2 separate regions of the Homo sapiens genome follow, and region 1 is linked to region 2. The links are contacts of gene promoters, found by promoter capture Hi-C in blood cells and fetal thymus (Javierre and others, 2016). All regions are on one chromosome and are shown on one strand. The core of a region is centred on a gene start or on the middle of the fragment in contact, and the rest is flanking DNA. Distances in the headings are between cores, read along the strand shown. Region 1 overlaps CCDC93 (CCC complex scaffolding subunit CCDC93). Region 2 holds the start of CCDC93 (CCC complex scaffolding subunit CCDC93).

What was found. Contacts are between HindIII fragments. The CHiCAGO score rates a contact against its expected background, and 5 or more counts as called.
Region 1: a contact is called between a fragment that was not itself captured here and the fragment with the promoter of CCDC93 in region 2, in 1 of 17 cell types (monocytes). The highest score is 6.0, in monocytes.

What each region holds. Positions count from the first base shown.
Region 1 is chr2:117,961,198-117,968,654 of GRCh38, reverse strand. The region is part of intron 11 of CCDC93 (CCC complex scaffolding subunit CCDC93); the gene reads left to right. Among named protein-coding and RNA genes, the nearest start is that of CCDC93, 49 kb to the left of the region's middle. The HindIII fragment of the contact is 2,497 bases long and covers 3,321-5,817 here.
Region 2 is chr2:118,011,770-118,019,336 of GRCh38, reverse strand. CCDC93 (CCC complex scaffolding subunit CCDC93) reads left to right here and starts at 5,267. Exons shown (of 24, transcript NM_019044.5): 1 at 5,267-5,383. The coding sequence starts at 5,342. It also overlaps the pseudogene RN7SL111P. RefSeq lists silencers at 5,060-5,259, 5,730-5,779. The HindIII fragment of the contact is 9,438 bases long and covers 1,573-7,567 here.

The DNA of each region.
Region 1 (7,457 bases), core at 3,320-5,819, 50 kb after region 2:
ACATGTGCAGTATTCTCTTTTACTGGTAAAGTTCACAAGTTTCTTATAAGAGTGTAACATAACATGTATCTCAAAGTTCCTGAGACATGTAACTCAATATGGTTCTTGTAGAGCAGCAGAAAGAGGAATGTGAAGAAGCTTCCAGATACATAATTCATGAGTGTCCGTAGACTCTAGGCTGAGTAGCTCCATCTGCCATTGTTTCCAAAGGGTAACACCCTTCCCTGAATGTGCTACAAGAAGTACCAGTGTGCTTTTGGTGTTCATGTCTAATATTCTCACTGCATCATAGCATTTATTTTTACAGGGAAGAAGAATCTATTACTCTGATTTACAGAAAACTGAAATGCCTGACTGTCCAAAATATATTTCCGCCCTGCAACCCCCTAAGCTTGATAGGAGCCAGAAGAAAGAAAAGGAAGCTGGGCCAGGGAAGTTGCAAGGTCCCTGGGAGGGCAGGAAGGGACTTTCCCTAATGCTGCATACTAACTAACCATACACCGTTTTGACCGCTTTAATACTTAGTCTGCCAACTAAATCATTCATTGGTTGACTTCTCCCTAAGACAGGATATTGGAACATTTTGTAGCTCTAAAGGATCTGAATATTTTATAGCTCTAGAGGCACAGATTTGTCTTGGTGAATCTGAATCTACCCTGAGTGCCTCTCCATGCAGATTCTTTGTGTACCATTATCTCATTTAGTTCTTATTTTTTAATTCTAAAAAATTATCTCATTTAATTCGTATAGGCTGCCTTCCTGCTTATAATCCTCTGCCTTCCTCCATCATTATACTTATATGCAGTTGAAACTATCTGTTTATGTGGCTGTGGACCACCTTTACTCTTGTTTGTAATCTGAGAGTCTCGCTAAGGGCCCACCAGTGTTGGTGCTCTATAAATGAGTACGTGATATTATATCCATTTTGCAGGCAAAGAAACGAGATTATGTGACTTGTCCAGTGCCATACAGCTAATAAGTTCCAGGTTTGAGTGCAGGACTGTTTTGACTTTGCAATCTTTCTCCTTGGCTAGGTGGAGCTTCCTTAGGGAGAAGCAGGGACAGCCTCCTTTACCATCCTTAGTGTCTGCCTTCCAGGCTTGGCTGTGGCTGTGCCTCCTTAGACTGTCCCACTATTCAACTGCCTACCTTGGGCTATTGGTAGCTAGGGCATACCGGGAACTAACCACGGAAACAAGAGAAAGTGAAAATGGTGCAGCTCAGCCCAGGCACTCACACACCATAAACCTAAGCTGCTGAAAGCCGTGGAAGTTTGTATTTGGAGTATCTAAGTGACTCTTCATGTTTCTGGAGAATACCACATTAATGTGGTCTCATGCAGTCCTTTAAAGGGTAATATCTGGCTAGGCATGGTGGCTCACGCCTGTAATCCCAGCACTTTGGAAGGCTGAGGCAGGCAGATCACTTGAGGTCAGGAGTTTGAGACCAGCCTGGCCAACATGGTGAAACCCTGTCTCTACTAAAATACAAAAATTAGCTGGGTGTGGTGGCACATGCTTGTAATCCCAGCTACTTGGGAGGCTGAGGTGGGATTGGTAGCTTGAACCTGGGAGGCGGAGGTTGCAGTGAGCTGAGATCGCGCCACTGCACTCCAGCCTGGGCGACAGAGAGAGACTTTGTTTCAGAAAAAAAAGGCAGTGGGAGGTAATATCCTAGCCCGAAGAATGTCAACATCTTGATCTCATTTCCATAGCAAGGTGTATTTTAGATCATCAAGGGACTTATTTGTGGAAGGAATTTTTCCTTAATGGGTTTTGGAAATTTTCCTGTCCAGCAATTAAGAAATTCTGGCACCATTGCCTCTGACCTTTTGATTCTGAGAATCATTCTCTGGCAGTTAGAAGCCTTTGCTCTATCTTGAAGTCATATCTTTCCAGAGCACCTGGGGAATCTCGCCAGATAATTAGAGCTTGGGTATGGTCAAGGATGTACTTATGAAAAAACACAAAGGAAAGTGTCTCTTCTAGAAAAAGCAGACAGCCACATTTGATTAGAGCAGATCTTGTCCCCATCTATCATGATGATTTTTATTCCACTTTATGATGCAATCAGCAGAGAAGACTGCCTCTTCAGTTCTGTCACTCACTAAGTTGGACCCTTTGCCTTTTAAGCCTTTTGGGTGCAAGTAATAGGAATTCTACCCAGCATGTTGCTATAAGCAAAAGGGAGCCTTTATCAGCTCTCAGAACTGGAAGTATTTAGTGGGGGACTCAAATGGCCCTGCCATATCCCTTTACCCTTGCTTCACTTTGTCTCTGTCTTGGCTTCATCACCTTGGAGGCCTGACTGTAGACAGTTTCTGTCTTACTGCCCCCTTCCTCCATCAGTGTATAAAATCCTAAGGAAGGACTGTCCTCTGTCTGTCATGGCTTAGGTCACAGATTTCTCCCCAGGCCCATTGTTGCCAGGAGTTGGGTGTGACTGGCAGCCCCTCTGAACTAGAAAGAGTAGGAGACAGGGATTACTTTTCTACCAACAGATATGGGGCACACATGGTGGCTAGCACCCCCATAAGGCCTTCGTTTCCACTAGGCCCTCAGGAAATTTATTCAACAAAGTTGGAGGGAATTGACCCAAAAGAATCAATTGTTAATATATCGTTTGTCCTCTTAGTAGTTGCCTTCACGTTGTTATTTCTCCACCCTGGGTTTGTAACTCTTACACTTTTTCCAAACGTATGAAGTCTTCTGAAAATATATTTTTAAATTAATACAATCTTTTTATATTTTAAGTCTTTGTTTTTTTTTTCTGCCAGAGAACTGATGGAATTGACCTCATAATCACTGTCATGTGAAAGAGTGATTAGATATATTTCTTCTTTCAGCAAACACCTGTTGAGTAGATCTGCATCCAGGCAGTGTCAGGTGTAGGGGGCAGGGATTGCGTTACGCGTGAGTCAGGGTTGCGGCCCTGAGGGGCTTCCAGTAAGGAGTCAGTCAACCTGTGAAAACATAAATTACAGAATAATACAATTTGTATGCCTATAAAGTGGCTGCCGGGTGCTACTAGGTTTGTGTTATCATTTGAAGTGACAGTATCTGCCCAAAGAAAAGTTGTTGATATTTTTGTTGATATTAAAATATTTTTGCCTGATAATAACCAGGCAGAATGGATGACTTTTAAAATTATACCATGGGGTTAGAAATGGAAAAGGGAAGGGCTTAGGACTGAGTGAAGATACCACACCCCAGGGACATTGCCTGGGCCAGAAAGTAACAGGAAGCTTAGCAGCCCGGGGACCCCGACTGCTTTGTTAGAAAATCAGCCTGATCTGCCACCTGTGTGATTTCTAATAAGCTTAGATGTGAGTGTTTCCAATCCTATCATCCTGCCCAACTCAAAAAATGTTACCACTTGCTAGCAGCATCGGTTTGTGGAGTTGGGGAGAAGTGTAGTATGAGTCAGGAAAGGGGTGGGGGTGTTCCTCTCTTGGAAACCTCCTATTGTGGCCACAGATAGAAAAACCCAGGAGGGTTTGGGGGTCTAAAATCAGGAGGGGTGGGGGTCTAGGTAGATTTTTAAACCCCTTCATTCTAGATACTATTTCCTCACATAACATAATAGGTGTTGCATAAATCATATTCCTAACCTCTGAAGTTTTAGAGGGCCAATATTTCATTTTTTATCTTTGTATTCCTGTTGCTTCATTCATAATAAATACTCAGTAGAAGATAATGGATCACTTGAAGACTTTGTGGAGACTCACCTGATAGCCATTAGCAATGATTCTGGGCCAGGCACAGAGGCTCACGCCTGTAATCCAAGCATTTTGGGAGCCTGAGGCGAGAGGATCGCTTGAGGCCAGGAGTTTGAGATCAGCCTGGGCAACATGGTGAGACCCCTATCTCTACAAAATATTTTTTTAAAATTACTTGGGTATAGTGACATGTACCTCCAGTCCCAGCTCCTTGGGAGGCAGAGGCAGGAGGATTGCTTGAGCTCAGGAGTTTGAGGTTGCAGTGAGCTATGATCATGCCACTGCATTCCAGCCTGGGCAACAGAGTGAGACCCTCTTAAAAAAAAAAAAATTCTACTTCTTAAAAGAGGCTCTTCAGTGATGTTGTAGAGATCAGCTCTTTATCTCCTTTGTAGCACTTCCCTCAAGCACTGTTTCGTTTGTTTCTTTGCTTGTCTCCCAGGACTAGAATGTTTGCTTTCCAGGAGGGCTAGGATTATAGTATACTCTCAGTGCCCAACACAATTGGGTTTTCACAGATATTTGCTGAAGGAAAGAAGAAAGGAAGAGAGGGAGAGGAAGGAACAACAGCAGCTTTCAAAACCCTTTTCCTCTGTGACACAATTTAGGCATTGAGGAGAATGCAGAGGATGCAACACCTTTACTTACGAATTAGCTGGTTTTGTCTGGCTAGATTATGAAGGGCCAGAGGTACAGTCTTTGTCTTTTCCCACTTCCCCAGTGCATACCACCGTGCCCCCACACAATAAGATCTGAGTAAAGATTAGCTGAAATAAGCCAAGGAAGGTGGGGAGAGAGATTTAAAATTTTAATCAGAGTTAAGAGAGTAAGGAACCCTGTAAATCTGGAGAGAACAATGCTAAATATGTTTCTGTTTACAAACGGCTCTAAGATTTCCTGAATTCGGATCGACTCTTACGTAATTAGTATACAATACCTAACTGCAAGGATAATGGTATCAACTAATGAATTGTCAGCCTGGTAAAATGATCTCAAGCCACACAGCACAACTTATACATTTCAGAGTCCGTATCAATTTGCATAAAGACTTGGACTTTAGCCTTGCCAGATTTGAGCATCACTTAAAGCATCACTTGCAAAGATAATTGGAACATCACTTAAGAAAAATGAAAAAACTGTTGAATTTCAGAAAAGTGAGTTGTACCAATTCATGATTTGGTGAGGATGCCATCTGACCTGACAGTAGTGTATGGGGATTAAAGAGGAGGTTTTGGATTTTGTTCACACCTCCTAAATGTTAAGTGCATTCTGAGCAGGCACACCGCATTACTCACAGTGGGACCCAAAGCAAAGCCTTAGACTCAACAAGGTTACATAACTATGGGTTTTTGAAATTCATGGAATTTCATTAGTGGGTTTTAAAAATATTGAAAAGAGCATTCATGTATTGAGTTTCATTTTTGGAAGCAGAATATAGATCAGGGAAAGTGGATGATTCCCTCCTATCTGCAGTGGTCACACATCATCAGGAGTGCTTTAGAAGTTCACTTACAAACTAGGATAACATCCAAGGTGGTGAAAGGTGTCAGCATCTTGTTATAGAAAGGACAGGTGGAAGAGCTGTAGACACTTAGTTGAACTGTTATCTGAAAGAGTGATTAGATTTAATCTGTTGCTTTAGGGAGGAATGGGCATGCTTGTATGTATATGGTGTGTGCATTGGGAGGGGGTGTATTTGAATAAGTCTTTACAGATGCAGTTCTGCTGTCTGTTTTCACTGGCTTTTGTTTATGGTAGTTTGACTTCTTGTCTGCTTTTGATTTTTGACTGTGAGCCCCATATCCCTTAGAAGTTTATCTGTAGGAACTATTTGAGGCCTAGGATTGAAGCTCTGTTCTTTCAGGGAAGATCTGCTTTTGCTTCTGCCAAGCACCTGGGGATACTTCAGCCCAAGTGCATTTTATACCTAGTCCTTACTTATGGGTTTTTTGCCCCAAAGTAGTGTGTGAATTAGGATTGCAGAACTGCATGAGGTCCAATCTGTTGTTACAAAATCTCATTGTGGATTTTTTCCCTCTTACAGCTGTATCAAGATTTATGTGGTAAAAAGTTGTTACTGAATTGTAAAAATCAAAGCTTGTGATCATCAGGTTTTGGCAAATACTCTCAGGAAAAAAAGCCAACTTCAGTGGGTACATATACATTCCTGGATTCCCACTTTCAGTTACTTTTTGGCCTTCCGAAATTTAACATTCTTGCTAGTTCTTAGATTTAAAAACATTTTTAAATAAATATTTCACATAGTCTGTTTACTTGTCTTTATTTATTTATTTGAGGCAGAGTCCCACTCTGCCGCCCAGGCTGGAGTGTAGTGGTGTGACCTCGGCTCACTGCAACCTCCACCTCCTGGGTTTAAGCAATTCTCATGCCTCAGCCTCCCAAGTAGCTGGGATTACAGGCGTATGCCACTATGCCTGGCTAATTTTTGTATTTTTAGTAGAGTAGGGTTTCACCATGTTGGCTAGGCTGGTCTTGAACTCCTGACCTCAAGTGATCCACTCACCTTGGCCTCTGGAGGTGCTGGGATTACAGGCGCGAGCCACTGCGCCCAGCCTACTTGTCCTTAATTGGTCAGTCAGGGTACCAAAAATTGAAGTCCATCTATTTAGTGTAGAGAACTCCTGGTACCTTGTAAGATAGGAATTCTTTATTATTGTCAGCTTAGTGACCATATTTTGGTGGGGTAGGGAGATGATATAGGAGAGAACCCTGTATTAGAAGGTTGATGTGTAAATAACCTTTTGGGTTTCTTTCAATTATAAAAGTATATAGTTTTAGCTAAAGTAATCATTTTTTGCTTCTCTTGGGAATTTACCATTTTGAACTAGACTAATATTATTCGGTGACATTTAAATCTGTTTCCTCTAAAAATAGAAGTTGTGAATATCTGTCAGTTATTAGAAAACACTAAATTTACACTAGAAGTCATCTTAATCCACAATGTGGTTTTGAAAGCACGTTCTTAATCTGAAAATGTTGAACAAATTAGATTGGCACTTTAGCCCTCACTGCAATGTAAACACAAATGGAATATTTGTAGATGGTTGATGTTCTTTGACAGATGTTGCATTTTGGCAGCAGAAATCTGTTAAGATGCTCTACGGTTTAAATTTTTTCTGTCAAGGATTTAGTATAAAGCCCCTTTTCCTCTTCTCCTTCTGTCTGACTTTGTCTCATCATTCAAAATCCACCTTGGTCATCTAGTTTTCTTTCTCATCGTATCTCTCAGTGAATGAACCATTAGATGAGACCTGCTGGTTTACGGACCTGTTCCTGTCTTCATCAGTCTGAGTTCTCTTGGCTTTGAGAAACAAAAAATTTAGATTGCTTAATAAAAAGTGTGTTTGAAAAACAGAGCGGTCAGCTTTCTGTTTACTAGGTTAGGAACTCTCATTTCAGCTCAGTAATAAACTGTTTTATCTGACTAAAAATAACTTCCCATTAAACAAAGCAGCTTCCCATAGCACTGTCTCTAAACTCAGAGGCAAACAGAGGAACTTACAAGTTTATAAGTACTGTGCGCCAGTAAATGTACATTTACAGGACTCCACACAGGACTAAGAATTATTACCTACCAATAAAAGAGAGCAGTTTGAAAGCTCATGTTTCCTTGGAACATATACTACTATAACAGATATGGTAGAGGTACCTATAGAGATTTCAAGATATTTTTCTGTGCATTGCGAGCATTTTCTCTCTGTATGGTTGTCTGAATCAC
Region 2 (7,567 bases), core at 4,018-6,517:
CCCAGGCCCTGCTGCTGAAGTCCTTACTGGTCAGCCTTGTGCTGAAACAAACAAGGAGAGGACTGAGAGCAGGACTGGAAGGGTAATGGGAAACTGTCCAGAACACCTCAGATGCTCCTTCTGCCAGCAATGCTTTCCCCTGAGGCCCTTCTATGGTGTCCTTTTGGGATTTAGGTCTCTCTCAAATGGCACTGCAAAGCCTAATCCTGGCCCCTTCATCTAAAAGTGACTCTGACTCTAGCTATTCTTTATTGCATTACACTGGTTTTTTTTAATTGTTGTTGTTGTAGTTGTCATTGCTTGTTTTTTGGTTTTTGTTTTTTTTGTTGTTGTTGTTGTTAATTGTAGAGACAGGTTTTTGCCATGTTTCCCAGGCTGGTCTTGAACTCCTGGGCTCAAGCAATCTGCCTGCCTCAGCCTCCCAAAGTGCTGGGATTACAGGTGTGAGCCACCACACCCAAACTACACTGTTTTTCCCCCCTTTAATAGCACCTATTTCTACCTGATATTATCTTATTAATTACATGTTTAATTTCTGTCAGTAATTATCTTGTTTGGTGTGTTGACTGCAGTATCTGCAGCATCAGGAACAGTTTCTGGCACAGAGAAACTCTTCTCAAATTGACTGCTTATTGGAATCACCTGTGAAGCTTTGAAAATCCCATTACCTACCCCCGACCAAAAGAAAGAATTGTTTAGTTATTAAATCACTTTACAAAAAAATGTAAATATTATTTTCTCCAGGAGATAGAGAATGTAGCAGATATTCTCAAACATGTTTATTTACTACTGTGTAGTTGGCCCCTTGTTGAATCCTTTTTAATGTAGCTAATAGAGTGTGGTTGTACAAACTATGAAAGTTATTGAAATTCTTTGATAAAACTATCATTTTTGGGGGAAAACGTATTGGAAGAACTCATCCAAGTGTGTGTGTGTACACGCTGTGTTTTTCTAACCTTCAGTCCAGAAGTAGAAGGGGTTTAAATCTGCTTGCACTGCCTGTGCCTCCATTATGTTACTGTAGAAATGTGACATGCTAAATATAGGATGGTGCATTATAAAATTGTACCGCTTGAGAATAGACCAGCATGCCATTAAGAATTTTTAGGAAGAACTCATTTAACCTAAGAGCTCTTTGTTTATGGATTTTGAATTTTATATGCCACTGTGATCTATAAAGAAACAAATCCATAATGAAGTCACTATTCACTACTGTGTTGTATATAAAACAATATGTTCCAAGGCAAAAAATTCAATATTCATGCCTCTCCCTAGCCCAATTAAATCAGGATTGCTAAGGGTGGAATCCAGGTGATTCCAATGTGCAGCCAAGTTTGAGAGCTACTGACATAGAAGAAACTCAGCAATATTTGTTGGATGGATGGATGGATGGATGGATGGTTGGATGGGTGAGCAAAAGAACATGGGGAATGAGAAATTTGGGGCTCTGGTTCTAGCACTCCCTCTAATGTGCTGTGTGACCTCGCTGTGTCACTCTACTTTACTGAACACCCATTGTTGCACTACATGTAGAAGGAATGAGAGAAGCCTGAAGACAGAATAATTAAAGCTTTATAGAAAACTTCCGGCTGGGAGCGGTGGCTCACGCCTGGAATCCTAGCACTTTGGAAGGCCGAGGTGGGCGGATCACGAGGTCAGGAGATCGAGACCATCCTGGCTAACACAGTGAAACCCCGCCTCTAGTAGAAATACAAAAAATTAGCCGGGCGTGGTGGCGGGCGCCTGTAGTCCCAGCTACTCGGGAGGCTGAGGCAGGAGAATGGCGTGAACCCGGGAGGCGGAGCTTGCAGTGAGCCGAGATCGCACCACTGCACTCCAGCCTGGGTGACAGAGCGAGACTCCGTCTCAAAAAAAAAAAAAAAGAAAAAAAAGAAAGAAAACTTCCTCCAGAACAAAGCTAAGCCTAACAGGAAGCTCTTTACTATGTGTATTAGGCCATTCTCCCATTGCTATAAAGAAATACCTGAGACTGGGTAATTTATAAAGAAGAGGTTTAATTAACTCACAGTTCTACAGGCTTTACAGAAAGCATGGCGCCGGCATCTGCTTGGCTTCTGGGGAGGCTTTAGGAAGATTACAATCATGGTGGAAGGTGAAAGGAGAGCAGGCATGTCACATGGTGAAAGCAAGAGCTAGAGAGGATAAGTGCCACACTTTTAAACAGCCAGATCTCGTGATGAGTGACTCAGTGTCAGGAAGACAGCACCAAGAGGATGTTGCTAAACCATTCACAAAAAATCCACCCCAACGAGCCAATCACCTCCCACCAGGCCCCACCTCCAACACTGGCTATTACATTTTGACATGAGATCTGGGTGGGACAAATATCCAAACTATATCACTATGGTACCTCTTTACCCACGAACTGGAAAGTATTTGTGAGGCTCCAAAGAGGAACATCACACAACTCTGTACTCAGTGTACAGAAGAGAGACAGAATGACTGATTTCTAGTCCTCAGATATCACACTTGGGAGACACAATTTGTGAGGGTGCCTGGAGTGAAGGGAAAGGGAGAGAGATGGATTGATCTGAGAGATTCCTCACAAGCCTCCTTGTCTGCATTGGCTGTTAAAGGTCTTCTTCAAGACTGTGAAGGGTTTCTGCTCTCAAATATGGGCTGCTTAAACTTTCTTTTTCTTTTTTAAGAGACAGTGTCTTGCTATATTGCCCAGGCTTAAGTGCAGTGGCTATTCATGGTCATGATCCCACTACTGATCAGCACAGAAGTTTTAACCTGCTCTGTTTCTGACCTGGGCCAGTTCACCACTCCTTAGGCAACCTTGCTCCCTGGAGGTCACTGTATTGATACCAAACTTAGTGCAGATCTCTGATTGGCATAGCTTACTAAAGCCCAGAACTCCTGGGCTCAAGCGATTTTCCTGCCTCAGCCTCCCGAGTTGCTGGGACATAAGCAGGTGCCACCTAGCCCTGTTCAAACTTTCTTGACGATATTATGGCTGTTTTGCTGAGATTTTTTTTTTTAAGCATGCCCCATGCCCCTCAACTCTGTTACTGTCACTCTACACCTGTTGTAACATAGGACAGTTTCTTTTTTTTTTTTTAGACAGAGTTTCACTCTTGTTGCCCAGGCTGGAGTGCAGTGGCACAATCTCAGCTCACCGCAACCTCCGCCTTCCCAGTTCAAGTGATTCTCCTGCCTCAGCCTACCAAGTAGCTGGGATTACAGGCATGCGCTGCCACGCCCGGCTAATTTTGTATTTTTAGTAGAGACGGCATTTCTCCATGTTGGTCAGGCTGGTCTCGAACTCCCAATCTCAGGTGATCCACCCGCCTCGGCCTCTCAAAGTGCTGGGATTACAGACATGAGCCACCGCGCTCGGGAAGGACAGTTTCTTACTGAGGAAGTTAGCTACTCATGCTTATTTAAAACATTGCAAAAGCATTATAACAGGGAACTCAGGGTGTGGCCTGAGTCCTGTTATTCTCCAGGCTGCTATTATATACAGCTGTTTAGGCTTGCCTGCTATGTGAGATCTTACTACCTGTTCCTAGGCATCAGTACCTGTCTGGTCACTCAACAGTGGCCACAAATTATTATCACTCTCCATTCCCCATCAACCTATACCATTTCAGTGAATGACAGTTTTAAAACTACAAAAACAACACATTTGGGAAGTTATGAGAGTAGAAATTGAAGTTTATTGGCTTCACAAAGGATAAGAGCAAGATATACCACACAGGAGGGTTCCCATCTCAATACCTTAACTTGCATATTCAGATTATTCAAATTATTGGGGACCAGGGTTTGGGGATCGTGCACAGCTTTGAGTAATATTTGCTAGTTATATTTAAGAACAAAATGGCATCCTTAGGGCAGTTCCAACTATTTGTGAGCTCTGGCTCCAGACAAACCTCTGTCTGTCAGGATGAACTCCAGGAGGAGTACAAAAGGTGCAAAAATAAAATAAAATAGAAAACATCATATATATATACACGTATATATATACACACATATATACACGTATATATATATACACACATATATATATATACACGTATATATATATAGTTTTTAGACAGGGTCTTGCTCTGTCACCCAAGCAGGAGTGCAGTGGTGTTATCATAGCTCACTGCAACCTCAACCTTCCTGGCTCAAGCAATTCTCCCACCTCAGCCTACCGGCTAGCTGGGACCACTGGCACCGGGCTAATTTTCTTATTTTTTGTAGAGATGGAGGTCTCACTATGTTGCCCAGGTTGGTCTCCAACTCCTAGGTTCAAGTGATACTCCCGCCTCGACCCCCAAAGTGCTGGGATTACAGGCATGTGCCACCGCGCCTGCCTACTCTTTTAAAGACGCTAGGGATGCAAAGAAGAGACGAAAGCAAACACGAAACCTTTTTGATCTCAAGGAACTAAAGGTCTGAGTCTGACACTTCCCATCCCACACACATATACAGAGGGAAGGATCTCTTCTCCAGCAAAAGTTTTCACGAAAGTCATCTCTTTCCTCATTGCTTAAAAGAAACAAAAAGCCAAGAAGCCGTTATGGAGCGGGTGTGGGGGCCTGTGACCTTTTGTCTAGTTGCCATCCTCCGGGACCAACAAGGGGTACATCAAATAAGGGACGCGGCGGCTCAAATGACATGAACATAGGAGTCCGCATTCTCTGAGATGTCATTCCTCCAGGAAGACCCAGGAACCGTGAATAGGGCGGGGTGGTGGGCAATATCTGAAGCGAGGTTTCCTGGGAACGCGATGCCACTGGCCAGGACGCTGGAGAGGGCAGCGGGCTTGAAGAATCCCTTCTCAAGGGGTCCGTTCCTGGGTCGTATATGGAGAAGTCTGTCCAAGCGTGTGTCTGTAAGGTCTAGAGCCGGGCGTGCATTCAGAATCCTCAAGCTCATCTGTACTTGGACTCTGACCCTGAAGCGAGGCGGTTTCCGAAGTCTGATTCACCGAGGGGACAGGACCTATTTGGGGCATCCGATGGCAGCGAGAAGAGAAGGGAGCCGAAATGCAAAATATTCTCAAGATGCAGGAGGAACCCCTCTCAAAGAGCGCCACGGAGAAAACTTCAGAGTACGGGCGCGATGATCCAGCACAACGCCAGGACCTGCAGCCCAGCCCACCTCTCCCCGGGCTGCTGTGGCGCAGGCGCAGTGGCGCCGCGCTCCGGCCCCAGCGCGCATGCTCTGCCCGGCTGCGGCGCTTCGGGCAGGCGGCGGCGGCGGCGGCGGCGGCGGCAGAGGGAGTTTCCGCTTTGTACTCCACCCCGGTAGCAGCTCCGCGGCAGGGACAGCTTCCTCCGGACGCTTGGCGGGCTTCGCTCTCGCCTTACGACAGCCCGGTCGGATCATGGGGTTGCCCAGGGGGCCGGAGGGCCAGGGTCTCCCGGAGGTAAGAACGCCTCCTCCTTCCCTGACACGTCGGGGTTCCTGAAGAGAGGGCCGAGCCGCGGGGCGGCGGGCTGAGCGGGCCCTGGGTGCGTTAGGGGCGCCCCGCCCCCTTCCTCAGGCGTATCCACCTCAGGGAAGCGCCGACCCTCTTCTTGGAGGCGGGGAGCAGGTACCCCTGCATGGGCAGGGGGCGGCGGGCGGGTGAGGACAAACTTAAGCCGCTCCCGGGTCTCTTGGGGCGCAGGTGGCCTTCCTAGCCCGACACCTGCTCTGACGCAGCCCCACGCGCCGCGGGGTCCTGGGCTCCCACCTTTCTCCCTGTCCGGGACGGGCTCCCCCACCCCGCGCCGCAGGGCTAGCCCCGAGGGCCGAGGCTGCTGGGCGCTGGAGTCACGAGACCGCTCTCCGAGGCGGTTCGGGCTCGGGTGGTGACCTTGGGACGTCTACCGCCACCCCGCAGAGTCCCGGCGGCCCGCCCCACCCGCCTTGCTGTCGGGAGGGAATGCCACCCTCCTTGCGTGGACCCGGGCCGGGGCGGCGGGAGGAAGTTTGGGAGACTTGCGCGCACCAGGGAGGTGTCCCGCTGGGTCAGCGCGCCGGGGCGTTCGGGGTGGGACGCACTCCAGGGGTGCTGTGTGGCGGGGGACCCGGCTCTGGGCGGAAAGGCTGCGGCTTCTCCAGAAGAGGGCGGGGTTCTTTTCCAAAGGTGTTTGTTAAGTACTCACTTAGTGCTAGGGAGGGGGTCATGAGTGGTTTGCGGATTTCCACGTTTGCTGGGAATACAGGGAAAGTGTATTCATTTTCTTTTGGCTGCAAATACCACTTAGCATCTCATAGGTAGTTTGCATCTGTCGTCCCTTTCAGTTGATTTTACTCAAAGGCTAGTCTAGTTTACTGGATTCTGGAGAGAAATGGAAGCCACGCCGCACCTCTGCCTTTTTCCTAAGGTTCTGGAGCAGGCATTGGGCAGGGTGACTGCTTGCTTGACGTGGTGAGTCGTCCCTTCACACTTACCTGCCAGTGACCAATGTTACTCCTCTGCATTCCTCCCAAATCCTCAGTTCTTTCATATCACAAGTATCCACTAATTGAGGGATCACTGTGTTCTGTGTCCAGAAGCTGGGAATATATATAGTCTGAAAGGACAGATTTGTTTGTCAGTGTGTGCTCCCCGAATGCAAGTCCATTTTGTTGTCTTAAGAAAACCTGACAAGCATAATGTTGTCAGAACCCCTGTATTAGGTAAAATCTTACATGCACGTTGCCTGGGATGGGACCCAGGATAGTGAACAATAGGATTTGTACTGTGACATTTGAAGTTTTCTTTTTTGCCACTTCTGTATTCTAGGCTCTCATCAAGTTTTTGCCTGGCCTTTTGCTGTAGACTTCTGTCTGGTCTCCCACGTTCTACTTTAAATCCGTCCAACCCAATATTCCACAGTACTATCAGTGGAGGTCTTTCTGGGGGGAAAATAAATAAATTAATTAATGAAGAGCAACCTGCTGCTGTATGTCCTTCGTTTAAACTTTCACTGACTGCTAAGAGGCCACACTCACCAGGTCAAGCAATAACTTATCATCATTTAGTTCAGAAGCTAGTAAATATAAATATGGATAGTCTGTGTTATTAGGATGTCACTAGACCAGTTAATTCATTAAATTCATTCTTTTTTTTTTTTTTGAGACAGAGTCTCACTCTGTCACCGAGGCTGGAGTGCAATGGCGTGAGCTCGGTTCATTGCAACCTCTGCCTCCCAGGTTCAAGCAATTCTTATGCCTCAGGCTTCCCAGTAGCTGGGATTGCAGATGTGAGCCACTGCCCTGCCCGAATTCATTCTTTTTAACCCTTTACAAAGATAGCTAGACTTGGCCTGCCTTCCAGCTTACAACAACTATAGTGGACGGAAATTGAAAGTTTATTGGGCTTTGTGTAAGAGCTCATTGTTGTTTGTCTTTGTCAGAAATTTAGCTTCAACAACTGGATGTATTAACCAGCCTGGTGGATTTTTATTGCTTCAAGAGAGGGTCTTTCATTCCCAGCAGATCAGACAGTGGCCCTTTTCCATTTGATTTCAGTGTTAATCTGCTAAGTGAATTTGGAGTCATACATTCCCATTTAGTGTCTTGTGCCAAAATTACTTCACAAGTTATATTGCAAAAGTAAACTTCTCCATGCTAGGGGTGA